3 separate regions of the Homo sapiens genome follow, and all the other regions are linked to region 2. The links are contacts of gene promoters, found by promoter capture Hi-C in human tissues and cell types (Jung and others, 2019). All regions are on one chromosome and are shown on one strand. Each heading gives the region's core, a stretch centred on a gene start or on the middle of the fragment in contact. The rest is flanking DNA. Distances are from core to core; before and after follow the strand shown. Region 1 has its middle 27 kb from the start of DAAM2. Region 2 holds the start of UNC5CL (unc-5 family C-terminal like). Region 3 holds the start of SAYSD1 (SAYSVFN motif domain containing 1).

What was found. Contacts are between HindIII fragments. The study calls those that stand out against the background at their distance.
Region 1: a fragment that was not itself captured here is called in contact with the fragment with the promoter of UNC5CL in region 2 in 1 of the 25 tissues and cell types used here (dorsolateral prefrontal cortex).
Region 3: the fragment with the promoter of SAYSD1 here is called in contact with the fragment with the promoter of UNC5CL in region 2 in 1 of the 25 tissues and cell types used here (spleen).

What each region holds. Positions count from the first base shown.
Region 1 is chr6:39,764,241-39,767,472 of GRCh38, forward strand. No RefSeq gene overlaps it. Among named protein-coding and RNA genes, the nearest start is that of DAAM2, 27 kb to the right of the region's middle. The HindIII fragment of the contact is 7,239 bases long and covers 1-3,232 here.
Region 2 is chr6:41,037,192-41,040,499 of GRCh38, forward strand. It overlaps UNC5CL (unc-5 family C-terminal like), which reads right to left and starts at 2,030. Exons shown (of 9, transcript NM_173561.3): 1 at 1,971-2,030. The HindIII fragment of the contact is 20,650 bases long and covers 1-3,308 here.
Region 3 is chr6:39,113,836-39,117,170 of GRCh38, forward strand. SAYSD1 (SAYSVFN motif domain containing 1) reads right to left here and starts at 1,351. Exons shown (of 2, transcript NM_018322.3): 1 at 1,048-1,351. The coding sequence starts at 1,254. RefSeq lists an enhancer at 945-1,234. The HindIII fragment of the contact is 12,223 bases long and covers 1-3,335 here.

The sequences.
Region 1 (3,232 bases), core at 650-3,149, 1.3 Mb before region 2:
CAGAAAAGTTAGGGCCAGAAAAGCACAGCCAGTTGCCAGGCCCTGTCCTGGTTGCAAGTGGCTTCCCTATTGCTGCTTTGCAATCCCTGGTTTTCATTCAGGAAGACAGAAGTACCCTCCTAGGGAGTTCTTGCAAATGTGGTCATCCTAAAGACTTTTGGTGGTGGTAAGAGTGCTATGGCATTTAGTGGAGAGAGGTCAGGGATGCTAAATATCCAAGCATGCCACATTCTTGGGGAGAATTGTTCTGGCCCAAATGCAAGTAGCATCCTAGGTGCTAGGTAGACCACTGGGGTGATGTAGGGTATTTGGGTAGAAAATATGGATGTTGGAAGATGCAAGGATGGCCATAACCCATGATAGGCTGTTGTCTTCTGGTAGGACCAGAGTCAGGTATGATGCTCAACTGCAGGAAGTATGGTGCCTATAGAAAATACACTTTTTAGATCACATACCAAAAAAAAGGTCTATCATTGAAAACATGCATTTTCTCATTTATCTCAGTGGCATAGTCTTTATGAAATGTTAAATGGTGAATCAAGGAGGGTTATAATTTTATATAGAAACAAGACTAGAACTGGTTAGGGGAAGGAAGGTAGAGAGAACAAGGGCAACTGTACCATAAACACTTGAAAACTTCCTTCTATTGATTGGCTTATCTGCATCTGTAGAAATCATGACATCCTGCTTTTGTTGTTGTTGTTCAATATAAAATATGTTCTGTTTTGCTATGAACAGACATTCCTGGTAACTATGCACAGAATCTTCCCTAATCTAACTGATTTTTCCCCACCTGCAAATCAACCAGTTATACATTTTCAATCCCAGTGCTTGATGATAGTTAAACCTAACTTATATTTAAACCTTACATTGGGCTGAATTAGTTGATTTTCCTCCAGGATGAAATTCACCTCATGTTGAAGAAGCATACTGTCTAATCTTTCTCCTGCAGTGTTATATGTAACAAGTGAGCTTGATCTGGGACTCCTGATCAGCCTGGTCATAAAACTGCACCTCTCAACTCCAATCTCTTTTTCCTGATTACCTTCTTCATTTTTTCATGTACACAGAGCATTCCATGTGATGCTTGGTTTTGTCCATCCTGAGGCCTGCAAATGACCTATGAATTTGCTGCTCTGTGGTCAGCATATGGGAATTATAGTGTAGGAGCAGCCAAGTAGAGAGGGTACATCTCACCCACTCTTAAGCTCAGAAACTTTCAAATTTTAAAAGCTTTTTAACTAACTCTAATTTGTCAATGGATAATACAAATTAAGCACAAACAGCCTTGATTTAATTGGGTACACTGACATCTGCCTTTACAGCTGTGTGCTTTCAAAAGTTGAGCACAAGCATTAATATTTTGGTTGAGTCTACATTGTGCACAAAGAAACGCACAGAAACAGCAGAAAGGTCTAACCAGTGTACTGTAGGTATTCATTATCCACAGGGGGAAGTACCTGTGGCAAATTCAACATTCCTGTTTTAGTTCTTCTTCTACCTAGCACTTTCTGGACTCCTGCCCTCTGTGGTTGGTTGATGTGTGCTCTGGGAATGCAAGCTCATTTCAGTATGTTCTCTTTGATGGTTCAGAAGGCATTTGAGACCACGCAGAGCCCCTGGGTCATGATTATGAACAACAATTATTGTACTAGAGATTTACAGATGTGCTGGTTACTGGAGGGTTGTGGTTAATAGAATGCTGAACAACAAAGACTTTATTGTATAACTGACGAGGGAAAAGTTCCCCAACAGCAAAATACATAGTCTCAAAAAGTCAGGGGAGCTGGAGGAAAACACATGAAGTTGAGTTTTCCCTTTATACAAAAAAGTTGTTTCCCCAAATTAAATGGTCAGTTTTAAAAAGTCACCGTGTAGTAAATACTTTGCTTCAAAGAAGAAAGAGACAAAATGTAGAGGCAACAAGCCAAAGTCTCCCATATGTAAATTCTTTTCCACAGTGTGGCAAAATCTTTGGTGAAATCTGATTAACTCGTCACCAGGGAACTGTTCAGCGGCTTTTTCTTCATTACAGCGATTCAGGTCCCATGAACCTCCTGCTGCGCATGAAATATCAGACCTGATCTTTCTGTGGCAAATTCAAATACAGGTCAGGCACTACCTTTACACTAAATGCATAAACATGACACCAAATTTTAATGCTAACATTTGGCTTAGTCTTTGGTAATCAGATGTCCAAATTGGGTCATGTTAAGAAGTTCACCGAAACCTAAGAAAACTCCCTGATGGTGGTGTTAATTATCTTATGGTGGATGAGGTTCTTTCTGACCCATTTCCCAAAACCAATGGAGTCAGCTCTGTAACAGACCAAACTTCAGTGGGTTTATTTCATTCATTATGTAGAAAGATTACCAAGCACCAGACAGGTGGTGGTAGAACATATTTCTGTTCAATGACTGTGGTAGATGGCTTCCATTTGGCCCTCCAGATCCATTCGTCATCCCATTTCATTTTTAATTGATAGGGCAAATTTTAATACCAACTGGAGATTTTTTTGTGTGGAGTCTGTGATCTAAGAGAAGAATCTGACTGGTGTGAGATGATATCTCATTGTAGTTTTGATTTGCATTTCTCTGATGGCCTGTGATGATGATCATTTTTTCATGTGTCTGTTGGCTGCATAAATGTCTTCTTTTGAGAACTGTCTGTTCATATCCTTCGCCTACTTGTTGATGGGGTTATTTGTTTTTTCTTGTAAATTTATTTGAGTTCTTTGTAGATTCTGGATATTAGCCCTTTGTCAGATGAGCAGATTGCAAAAATTTTCTCCCATTCTGTAGGTTGCCTGTTCAATCTGATGGTAGTTTCTTTTGCTGTGAAGAAGCTCTTTAGTATAATTAGATCCCATTTGTCAATTTTGGCTTTTGTTGCCATTGCTTTCGGTGTTTTAGACATGAAGTCCTTGCCCATGCCTATGTCCTGAATGGTATTGCCTAGGTTTTTTTCTAGGGTTTTTATGGTTTTAGGTCTAACATTGAAGTCTTTAATCCATCTTGAATTAATTTTTTTATAAGGTGTAAGGAAGGAATTCAGTTTCAACTTTCTACATATGTCAACTTTCTACATATGGCTAGCCAGTTTTCCCAGCACCATTTGTTAAATAGGGAATCCTTTCCCCATTTCTTGTTTTTGTCAGGTTTGCCAAAGATCAGATAGTTGTAGATGTGTGGTATTATTTCTGAGGGCTCTGCTCTGTTCCATTGGTCTATAT
Region 2 (3,308 bases), core at 780-3,279:
GATTATGTGCTGTCATGTGTGATTTTCCCACTCAAATGAACATTTTCTAAGCACCGGCTGTGTATCGGACACTGTGGGAAGTTCAATCCTGCCAAAGATGACGTCTTATTCCGCTCTCAAGGAGCTTCTGCAGGAATGGAATTCATTGGCTTGGTAGCTGAGTTCTGTGAGGCACAACGTCCTCCTTCAGAGCCCTGGGAGGCCCCTCTGGTTGACTCACTAGAGGCTGCACTGGAAGAGCTTCCAGTATCCAGTCCTCCCCACGCCCTTCACTTGCACTACCCACCTGGAACTGAGGCTTGGCCCACCTTCTTCCTTCCAACCTCAGGACCCATGAAAACTGAAGCCCCTTCCTAGTGCCTCTTAGACCAGGGCAGAACCTCCACTGTATCCTCAGGATTGAAGACTGGGGCAGTACCTGTTTCTCCCATGTCCTCACTGAAAGTGTGAATAAGAAGCGGGGGTTGGCATTGTTCTCTTTGCCTAAAGAGCCAACCCAGCAGACAATGCACCAGCCTTTTTCAACCAGGCATCCTGGAGGGCACACAGGTGAATCAGTGAATTGGCAGTGTCCCAAAGCTGATGGGAAGGGGGTTGGAGCAGCAAGCTACCGTTGATGTCCCATCATTTCTTTTGGTTCTTTCACATTAGTAATAATTATAATTCCAACTGTAATAACAATAGCTAACATTCGCAGAGCTTTACTCAATGCCACTGTGTTAAAGCACTCTCCATGGCTTGTCTCATCTCATCCTCACAGCAGCCTTAGGAGCGAGGTGTTATTTTTATCTCCATTTCACAGATAAGGAATCCGAGCTTTCTCCCCACAGTGAAGATGGATAGGGAATTACTAAACAACTGAAGACAGGCAGGAAGGAGGAGCAAAGACGAACAAGGACTTCCAGAGATACCCCCTTTCTCTCTCCACCCCTTCTTTTCCCCAAGTATCTTCCTTTCCTTCTCTAGAAGAAATAAAGTTGGAAGAGAAAGAAGCAAAAATGAAGTAAAGACAAATAGAAGGACCTAAATTTACATCCTCAGTTATGTGGTAATACCCACCCCACTACACCACACCCCCACCTACCAAGGTACCAGTGGCAGGGGATGGAATTGCTAAAGGGATGAAAGGAGGGGCCCCAGCTCGCTTACACAGCAGTAACCTTCCTGGGGCCACCAAAGACCAGAGTCCAGATCCCCAGTGAGGTGCACCTCACTGGGTGGTGCAGTAGAGTCCCCTGGCTCAACCTCCGACCCTGGAGAAGTTGGCATGCACCACTCCCAAAGCCCCACTGGGCCTCTCCCAGGGTGACTGCTCTTCCAGGCTGCCCTGGCCCTCACTGCATCCTCCCTCTGGCTCCAGAATGGGGAAAGGTCCGGAGTCTTGCTGAATGGCAACTATAGCACTGCAGCCATTCGAGTGTGACTTGGGGCATCCCAACCCCATGCCTGGACTCCTCATTACCCACTCCTCCAGTCTGTCTTGCTCCAGACCCCAGATCACCCTGGGTAGCGGGTCCCCGAAACGAGAGTCCTTTAGAATGCTGCCATCACCTGTCCCTAGGCAGTTGCATCCTCCAGCACAAAGATCCAAACTCCTGCTGCAAAGTTCTGCTCATACCCTTTAAGAAAACTCTCAACCTTTCCTCCACCTCACTGGTTCTCCCTGTGCCTCCCCAACACCTGATAGATGTCCAGTTACTGCAGAACATAACAAGTACTGGGATGGATGGTCCAAACCCAAGTCATGAATGGCATTTGTTAGTATAGTAGACATTTCCGCAGGACACAGAATCATCCCAGTGGTCCTCATACCCATTGGCCAAGTCCCATTTTCCTCCCCTCCTCCAGCAGAGGGTCCCTACACTCCAGCAGGCAGGCTAAGCTGGCCTGGCTCCTCCCCCGAAGCTCCAGGTAACCCCATCACAATGCCCATCCCCTCTCCAGCTGCCCCAAGGGGGTGCTCAACTTACCGTCTAGGAGCTCTTAGAGGCTGCTGGCTGGTCCAGTTCCTTCTCCGAGAAACAAGGGTCAGCCAGATTCAGTCGGCAGGCCAGCAGACAAGTGGAGGTGGGCGGGGAATCCAGGCAGGAGTGGCCTGGCATTTCCTGGCAGAGCCCTGCCTCCCAGCTGTCTAAAGAGGGGTGAGGGAGAGTGTCCCTGTCTATTGGCAAAGTCCAGCCCAGGTAAGGGATTAGCTGAGGATCCCAGAAGTCAGTGAACTTTCCAGTCTAGGTCTGGAAGGAAGGAGGGAGGCAGGGAGACAACCTGGGTGTAGGTGCTGCACCTTGAAACCCCTCCTTACAGTGCCCTCTGCTGGTGAGTGGCTGTCCCCAGCCAGAGGCTATTATTAAAATAGCAGATAGGAGGAGGAGGGAACCTTCATCTGAGTTTCTTAAACTATAATGTGCACAACAGTCACCTGGGAGATCTTGTTAAAATGCAGGCTCTGATTCTGTAGGTCTAGTATGGGGCCTGAGATTCTGCAGCTCAAAGAAGCTCCCAGCTGATGCCAATGCAACCGGTCCAAGGAGCTTAGAGAGCATCTAGTTCCACCCGCTCCCCACACAGAGAAGACAGTGGAGCCACTGAGACGGTTAATGACTCACCAGTTGCTGGTGGACCTGAGATGTACCCATATTTTTCCTTACACAAGGTGCTTTCTACTTCCCCCACCCAAAGTTGGCAGAGACACTGCCGGTTGGGAGACAACTGAACTTTGGGGCCATTTGCCATTCTGAGTTCTTAAAACTCTGCCTAGGAGCGGTGGCACCACAAGAATGAAAACTCCTTGTGGAACTTTTCCCATGTTTTCGGCTGTCTCCTCAGCTCCTGGTACAGCCTGATAGATAGAAGGTGTTCAATAAACATGTCTTGAATGAATGAGTGAAGCAGTTGAGAGGGAAAAGGATGCATTTTGGCTCCAACTGGCCAACACTGAGCCCAGGTGAGCCACACGTTGGGTATGTAATATTGGGCAAGCTACTTAACTCCTCTGAACCTCAATTCCCTTGTCTGTCAAATGCAGTTAAGAATATCTACCTTGTGTGAGATAATAATTGTCATTATTGAGCTAATAAATGTCAAATGCCCACCACAGAATGGGTGGTCAATAGATGGTAACCGTTGTCACCAGGGTCTGGCCTCCTGCAGTTGAGGAGGCATGGTGAACGCCCCCCCAGGCCCCTAGTTATCATCTCCCATAGAAAATAAGTAACTTCCTCTGCTTTTGTCTCAGTTAATAATTCTCTAGCCTCTTGTCTCTGACTGCAATGCCCTCCCCTCTGCTTCCTTCCCTGGTGGAGGTGAGA
Region 3 (3,335 bases), core at 101-2,600, 1.9 Mb before region 2:
CAAGGAAATGGATTGTCTGAACTCTGCTGCGCTCTTTTCACCTTTCTGCAAGTCAGCTGGAATCCTGTATATCACTGAGAATATCAAATCAAAATTGAGTAATAGGTTCAGTAATTTTTAAAAATTCCCTCAAATCAAATGTTGTGCAATAATAGATGAACTTACAGGAAATAATTTTAAGGTGAGCAAGGTACACTTTTCTTCCAGTATATTTTCATTTTAAAAGGAATTTTTTAGTTCTTATTGCACTTATGAGGAACAAAGCACTGGGCACAAATTGTTACAAAGCACTCATCCCTTGATATGTTTTGTCTTGTATTTCCACATAGACATTTCAACCTCACTGCAAGCCACCTTACCATTTTACTGAGTTAAAACTAAATGAAAACACAAAAGGATGCAAATTAAATTCATCTGCAAAACAAGAGATTACCAAAACAATTAAATGTGAAAAGGTTATCATACTAAATCACTTTTTTTTGTTTGTGTCTTGAACATTCACTATGGAACTGGAATAAGCTTCTGCCACTACCGGCAGTTACAGCTACCACACTTTGGTAAATTCTGTATTCAAACGCATTTCTAAGTCACAGGCTATCTGGGCTACTAGCTGCATGTGCCCCAGGTGCGAATCAAATGAAGTTTTAATTACTGCTACTTGTGATCGGTATCCAATTAGACCTTTTACCCTCCTCCATTAGCAGAGGGCTGTGGCTCAACTTGGTTGTGGAGAGGTTTCCCAATGCCACAGGGCGTCACGATAACTCAATTCGGAGTGAATAATTTAAGAGCAGAGGTGCTTTCTCCCAGGACCCTCGACTCTCGCTGGAATCAGGACCTGCGTGGGTCGCGGGCTGGAAAGAAAATGTCAAAACTGGTAACAGTGCTGACACGTGTGGCCGGAGATGAGCGGTCCGGCCCTCGATCAGGATGGGGGGCCAGTAGCCCCGCCTCCGGCAGCTAGGGCCACACCCCCGGCAGCTAGGGCCGCGCCCTCGACTGTGGCTCCGAGGCCAGGTCCTAGGGCCGAAGTTTCCATCGTCTCACCTGAACTAGGCCGGGCTGGGCCCGGGCACTCGCGGGCCTAGGTTTCCATACCAGGAACCGCTTTAGCCAGCCTGGGGCTGCCTTTAGAGTCGCTGCTGCTTCCGCCTTCTCTCCTGGGGTTTGTGCGCCCTGACTGGCAGCAGGGGGTTGGGCCGCCAGACCCGCCCGTTTCCGCGCCGCCCGAAACTCAGCTAACCGCTGTTCCATGGCGCGCGCCTCGCGTCCGTTGGCCGATAAGGGAGCGCGCGCCCGCAGGCCGCACAGCAGTTGCCTCCGCTCGGCCCGCGCCGGCCGCCGTGCGCCTGCGTGGCAGAAGCCCCTGCTGAGCATGCGCACTGGTGTGACCCGCGTCTCCTCCGTTTGTGAAGTCTGGCGGGTCGCGTGTATACTCAGCCGTTCTCTCTTCACAGGCACGTGGACACAGTGTCACCTCCTCAAGCCAAGTCTAAAGCACAGGGCTGCCCCATTGCCCTCTCCCAAAGGCCGCTCTGCCTTGCTGCATCTCACTTAAGGGCTCGAGGCCCCACTGATCCAGCGTCCTGTATTCGGGATCTCTGTTGCTGGGCCCCAATGAACAGCGCCACAGTGAGAAGATGGTTCCAGGGGTTAGGAGAGGCCCGTGATCTCTACGACATTCCAGCGTCAGAGGAATAACAGGCTACATCTTACCCTTTTTCTCTTATCAAGGAAAGGGTATGCCAATCTTAGTACCTGGAGGGTGACTTTCTCACTGCTCACAAAGCAGGCTGTGCAGCTCCATCATTGGTCTTGCCACGTTGGGAAATTATCTCGTTTTGTGTCTAGATACGTCAGAACCTTAAAAAAACCAACAACAAAAACTTTTATTGGGGTGCAACATAAAATACACATCTTAAGAATATGACTCAGTAGATTTGCTCTTATGTATGCACCTGTGTAACTACCACCCAGATGGAGAGAAAGAACATTTCTGTACTCTGGGAGTTTCCTTGTGCCCTCTCCCAATCAGTACCCTCCCAAAAGGACACAGTTCAGGTTAGGGGCTGTTTTATACGTTCTTAAAGCTGTAAGCATCTAGCTAAGTGTCACTTACATAATTAAGACTCAAATATTTGTTGGATCTGGCTGAGGGTGACTCGAGAAATTAGACAAATTAGAACAGAGTCATCCATTCATTTAACAGACGTTTACCTAGGGCCTGCTCTGTCTAAAGTCACAGGCACTGGGGATGCTGGGATGAAAGGAAAAAACAAACAAAAACCTGTTTTCTTAGAGCTTACACTCCAAATGGAAATACAGACAATAAACAAATGTGTATCTACATATTTCATGTCATATCAGGTACTGATAAGTGCTGTGAAGAAAAGTGAAGCAAAGTAGGCAATGGTGGAGGTATTAGAGAAGACCTCCCTGAAGGTTTGTCATTTGGGCATAGACTTAAATGAGTGAGGTATGTAGATATCTGAACAGGAGTGTTTCAGTCAGAGGAACAAGTGCAAAGGTCCCGAGGCCTCAAATAGCACGCTTGACTTGTTCACAGAACATCAGGGAGGCTGTTATGACTGGATTGGAAGGAGGGAGAGGGAGGCAGGGAGGGAGGGAGGGAAGGAGGGAAGGAGGGAGAGAGGGGGAGAGAGGGAGGGAGGGAGGGAGGAAAGAGTGACAGAAAATAAAGATGCCAGGGGCAAGATCGTGCATGTAAGGCCCTGTAGGCCATGGTGAAGACTAAGTGTGGTGGGAAGCAGTTAGTGGATTTTGAGCAGGAGATGATATGATATGACATATTTTTAAAGGATTACACTGGCTGATGGAGGTGGGACCCTGGAAGATTGCAAGAATAGAAGAAGGGAAACTAGTTAGGAATAAATATGGTAGAATGAGAAACTGTAGTAGTTTGAGCTAGAGTGGTAGTGATGGAGGTCACGAGAATTGGTCAGATTCTGAATGTATTTTGAAGACCTGAGCCAACATGGTGTGAGACGGATTGGATGTGGAATGTGAGGAAAAAAGGTATCAAGGATGACAGGGCCAGCCATCGTGGCTCACGCCTATAATCCCAGCACTTTGGGAGGCCAAGGCAGGGGGATCGCTTGAACCTAGGAGTTCAAGACCAGCCTGGGGAACATAGCAAGACCTCATCGCTATTAAAAAAAAAAAAAAAAAAAAAGGATGACAGGTTTCTTCCATTACTACCCCACTCCTCCTGCCCCCCCATATACATACACACATGCCCTGAGCAACCAGGCAAATGATGCTGGGGCCCTCTATTGAAATGAGGGCACACTGGGAGGAGAGAATTACAGAATAAA